Regions from separate parts of the Homo sapiens genome. Here region 1 is linked to region 2. The links are contacts of gene promoters, found by promoter capture Hi-C in human tissues and cell types (Jung and others, 2019). All regions are on one chromosome and are shown on one strand. The core of a region is centred on a gene start or on the middle of the fragment in contact, and the rest is flanking DNA. Distances in the headings are between cores, read along the strand shown.

Region 1 (2,700 bases), core at 162-2,661, 130 kb after region 2:
AATAAGAAGGAGCTTGTCAGTAAATAGTGAGTACAGAAGCTTAACTTCTCCATGAAATGGAATGAAAGCAAGGATAGCTGGAGAATAGTAGAAACAAAAAGGAAGTCAAGAATCAGGGCAGGTAGGGACATGTAGGCCATGGAAAGAATTTTAGATTTCATTCTACCTTCATTTTAATTCTGACATTATTTTAAAAGCATTTCCCCATACTGTTACACAGTTTTTATAGTTAATTCTTTTCACGATTGTATGAGAGTCTGTCATGTGGATTTATCAGTTGATTTATACCCAGTATGGGTATTTAGATTTTGGCAGTTTATTATTAGTAGTATAGAAGTGAACATCTTTGTGCATTTTTAAAAGAGTGTTTCTTGTTCAGGGTTAGCTCCTCAGGACAAGCTCCTAAAAATGGGGTTACCTGTTGCTAGGCATTGTGCTTTCCAAGAGGCTCCCAATAGAGTACACTTGGCAGTCAAAATATCACTTTTATTATTGAAAATGGCCAAGTTGAAGGCTGTAGCTTAATGTGAGGGCTAAAAGTTATCTTTAAGATCCCAGTTCAGGCTATAGCAACAGGTTACTGACAAAATTGGGTCCAGAAGGACAATGTATGGCACGGGGAGCAATGGAAAATGCATGGTTTATGTGGGTAGGCTTGCTTATAAAAGAATGGCAGAACTGTGGCGGAATGCCTAGTTCTTCTTCCCAAGCTTATCATTGGTCAGTCACTCCACCTCCCAATGATGGAAGTGAGTAAGGAGTAGGGGAGCTGGGGTTACACTGAGTTCCTTAACCAGAAGAAAAAATGAGGAGAGAGAAAGAAGGGTTCCTAAGTAACATTTTTGTAAAGGTGTTGATATATATTATTTGAAATTCAATTCAGATGGACCCTCTTAAAGAAATGGTACAGTGAAATATGTTCAGGCCGTGTTTTCATGATTTTTATGCATATCTGTTTCTTACATTTCAATATATAAATAGGTTTTTTTGCAATTTTCTGTAATATAATGACAAAGTATGAGAATTGTAGGTTCTGTGTTTAATGACGTGTATTGACAATACTGATACACTGTTTCAGAGTTATATTTTTAGCTTTGTAGAATACTACTGTTTTTATGTTTACCATATATGGTTTTAAAAACTTCTGTGTATTCAGCCCTTTTAGAGGTATAGTTTTTTCATTTCAATCTTTAACTCTTTAAGTGCCATAGAATTTACTAGAAATAAGATTTTTATGATGAGAACTCTTTGTTTAACCTAATATTCTATTGTCTAAGTAAAACATTTTTTCTTTTTATAGCATGTGTCTAAGCTGAAAATTATACTGTTAAATTAATTTCTCAGTACATATTAGAATAGAATATTTTTGCTAATATTTTTCTAGCATGATCAGGATGAACCTAAAATAGAAGTAGAGGGAGTTAAAACCCCCCAAAATTCTTCTTTTTCTCCTTAAGAAATAATGAGCTTTGAATTTAATTAATACTACTAATAATTAAGAAAATGGAATCTCTACAACTCTGAGAATCAGTATTTACAGGCAACATTATGACTTTATCTCTTTTACCTCATAATGTGTTTTTCTTAATTTTTATATTAGCATTTACTGATGCCTCAGAGCTACTTATTAAACTTACGGTTTATAATAGAATAAACAATACTTACGTAATTAAGAGAAATCCTTGACAAACAATACTGGTGGATGTAATACAGATATTTGAAAGATAGCAGAAATAGGAGAAATGTTTTTTGTTAGTGCTATGAAATATGTCATCTAAGTGGGTAGTATAACATAATTTAAAATAAACACTTCTAAATGCTATTGCACTATTGAAGCCTGCCTGCCTCAAGTGAACCATCCTGTATAGCATAATGTACAAGGAAGGTTCTGGAATGACATTTAGAGACTGAATCCAATGCTCCACTCATAAGCAGAATAAAGTGCACAGATTTATGGTTTTCCTGTTTTAAATGTCCCCAGAGAACATAGTACATTCCCTAATTTCCCTCGTTAAACATTCCCATGATAAGCAACTGTCTTTTATTAGCCTAAACTAAAACCAAATAGATTAGAAATCTCACATGTGGCTATGCCAATTTAGAATAAGGGCATTTTTTCTTTTTTTTTTTTCTTTTATTATTATACTTTAAGTTTTAGGGTACATGTGCACATTGTGCAGGTTAGTTACATATGTATACATGTGCCATGCTGGTGCGCTGCACCCACTAACTCGTCATCTAGCATTAGGTATATCTCCCAATGCTATCCCTCCCCCCTCCCCCCACCCCACAACAGTCCCCAGAGTCTGATGTTCCCCTTCCTGTGTCCATGTGATCTCATTGTTCAGTTCCCACCTATGAGTGAGAATATGCAGTGTTTGGTTTTTTGTTCTTGCGATAGTTTACTGAGAATGATGATTTCCAGTTTCATCCATGTCCCTACAAAGGACATGAACTCATCATTTTTCATGGCTGCATAGTATTCCATGGTGTATATGTGCCACATTTTCTTAATCCAGTCTATCATTGTTGGACATTTGGGTTGGTTCCAAGTCTTTGCTATTGTGAATAGTGCCACAATAAACATACGTGTGCATGTGTCTTTATAGCAGCATGATTTATAGTCCTTTGGGTATATACCCAGTAATGGGATGGCTTGGTCAAATGGTATTTCTAGTTCTAGATCCCTGAGGAATCACC
Region 2 (2,700 bases), core at 104-2,603:
TACAGGAATAAATATGTGATAATAATATCCTAGCTCAACATAGAAAGGAAGTTATCTCAGTATTTACCTAACAGTTTTGTAATGTGTGTGTGCGCGCGCGTATATGTCTTCTTCTTTTCTCTTTGTTAAGTGTGAGTGGAGAAGATGATGGCTAACACTGAGTTCTGTCATGGCCATGGCACTTTTATACCCACATTCTTTCTTTTAATCATGGAATTCTCCACCCCAGCCCTCACCCCGTGGATGTCGGAGTAAGACAACATTGTTATCACTCAGATTGTCATTGGGAGGGTGAATAAATGAATGCTTGCATTATGAGAGTTTGGGGGCAGAAATATGCCACAGACTCTTATCTGAAGCCATCAGATTTAGTGGCTGCGAACCCACCGAAGTCAGGGATTTACATTTTTTACAGCAACGAGAGAAAACTTCCCCTTTCCTCTGCAGAAGTCAGGACTGGATCTCAAAAATAGAAATGTGTCCTCCTAAATGTGTGCCCATCCCCGTGGTTGACAAACAACGGATTTCCCAAGATAGCTGCCACACACTTGGTTTCTAATCTCTGTATTGCTTCCCCGCCAGAATGTCGAAGTCCTTCCCGAATATGCCCAGTCATACTTTCTGAACTTTTGAGCAAACACCGTCCGGCTTCTTGTGCTTTCCTCAAAGACCCCAGGCACCGGCAGGGAGGACACAGGCCGGGGCAGAGCGCCCCTGCGCGGGGGATTCCTGCCACTCCGCGCCAGCCTGCGGCGCAAACGCTCTTCTCAGCCGCAGTCCCACCCGCTGCTGGCAATCTGAATGAGGAGCCGCGCTATTTTTACCTCCCCGGCTGCAATCCTTTATATTTACATGCAGGAAGCAAATATATAAGGGATTAAGAAGGAGATGCGTGGCCTTAGTTTATCCAGAGCAGGAAGAGGTTGGAATAGGAGAGGGTATGTGAAGTCTGGGGTGGTGGAAAAGGCAGGTGGACTTCGGCTGGTTGTTTTCTCCCGATCATCCCTGTCTCTGGCCTGGAAACCCCCGTACTCTCTTTCTTCTGGCTTATCCGTGACTGCCGGCTCCCCCTCCACCGCCCCCATCTTTTGAGGTACCACCCGTCACCTCCGATGCTGCTTGGGCTGCTGCATCACTCTGCTGCTTTACCCCCTTCCCCGCCCCCCAACAAAGCATGCGCAGTGCGTTCCGGGCCAGGCAACAGCAGCAGCACAGCATCCAGCAACAGCATCAGCACCCGAAGCCCCGCTCGGGCGCGCTCTCGGGGGGCGGGGCGCACGCCCGCTCCGCGCGTCCCCGCGCCGCTCGCTCCCGCGCGTCCCCGCGCCGCTCGCTCCCGCGCGCCGCCTCAGCATCCTCAGGCCCGGCGGCAGCCCCCGCAGTCGCTGAAGCGGCCGCGCCCGCCGGGGGAGGGAGTAGCCGCTGGGGAGGCTCCAAGTTGGCGGAGCGGCGAGGACCCCTGGACTCCTCTGCGTCCCGCCCCGGGAGTGGCTGCGAGGCTAGGCGAGCCGGGAAAGGGGGCGCCGCCCAGCCCCGAGCCCCGCGCCCCGTGCCCCGAGCCCGGAGCCCCCTGCCCGCCGCGGCACCATGCGCGCCGAGCCGGCGTGACCGGCTCCGCCCGCGGCCGCCCCGCAGCTAGCCCGGCGCTCTCGCCGGCCACACGGAGCGGCGCCCGGGAGCTATGAGCCATGAAGCCGCCCGGCAGCAGCTCGCGGCAGCCGCCCCTGGCGGGCTGCAGCCTTGCCGGCGCTTCCTGCGGCCCCCAACGCGGCCCCGCCGGCTCGGTGCCTGCCAGCGCCCCGGCCCGCACGCCGCCCTGCCGCCTGCTTCTCGTCCTTCTCCTGCTGCCTCCGCTCGCCGCCTCGTCCCGGCCCCGCGCCTGGGGGGCTGCTGCGCCCAGCGGTGGGTATGGCCCCGTGCCCTTTGCGTTGGCTTTCCCGCGGGGCCCTGCAGAGGAAAGCGAAGGGCGCGCGGGTCCGTGTGCTCCGGGCTTGTCCCCGGCTCGGCCTTTCCTTCCCTCCCTGCCTGTCTTTCCACCCTTCTCGTTCCCAAACCCCCATTCATCCCAGTTCACTTTTGGAAGTCCATTTCTGTTGCATTCGCGAAAAACCCATTCCAATTCTTGTTGGTTCCACTGGGAGGTGTTTAGTGGATCCTGGGTCCCTCAGCGATCTCTGTGCAACTTGCGGAGGGGCAACCAGTGGATGGGAAATACAGCGAGGGAGCAAGTTGCTACTTGCGTGGTGGAACCTTAATGTGAATGCGGGGAGGATGTAGTGATAATAGTGGTAATGGGCTGTTTCCTCAAATTTCGTATCCGGCGCATTCAGTGCGGTTGGAATTAAGGTGGGGGAGGCACACTTCGGGGACCAAAGAATTAAGGTGCTGAAGACATACTTCATGCACGACCTTTGGTTCTGATTTCTCAAAGTGCTTGTCATTATAATGAACAATTAATATAATACCATCTTCTATATATTGATGATTGGAAGTCACTGAAAGCAGAAAGCTGGCTTTGTCAGGAAAATAAAAAGAAATTGGGAAGCTGCCAGCATCTGTATCCCTACATGGCAAAGTATGTTTGCTCATCTTAAAGTTAAAAGAGAAGGGAATTGTCCATTTTGTTAAAAGAGTCGATTAATATTCGGTATCCATAAATTCAGTACTCAAGTTATCTTAGGAGCGTTCTTAGCTCTTGGA

The links. Contacts are between HindIII fragments. The study calls those that stand out against the background at their distance.
Region 1: a fragment that was not itself captured here is called in contact with the fragment with the promoter of ADAM23 in region 2 in 2 of the 25 tissues and cell types used here (dorsolateral prefrontal cortex and mesenchymal stem cells).

The regions. Positions count from the first base shown.
Region 1 is chr2:206,575,136-206,577,835 of GRCh38, forward strand. The region is part of intron 18 of ADAM23 (ADAM metallopeptidase domain 23); the gene reads left to right. Among named protein-coding and RNA genes, the nearest start is that of FAM237A, 66 kb to the right of the region's middle. The HindIII fragment of the contact is 5,904 bases long and covers 1-2,700 here.
Region 2 is chr2:206,442,179-206,444,878 of GRCh38, forward strand. It overlaps ADAM23 (ADAM metallopeptidase domain 23), which reads left to right and starts at 1,354. Exons shown (of 26, transcript NM_003812.4): 1 at 1,354-1,902. The coding sequence starts at 1,689. RefSeq lists a silencer at 1,799-1,928. The HindIII fragment of the contact is 14,990 bases long and covers 1-2,700 here.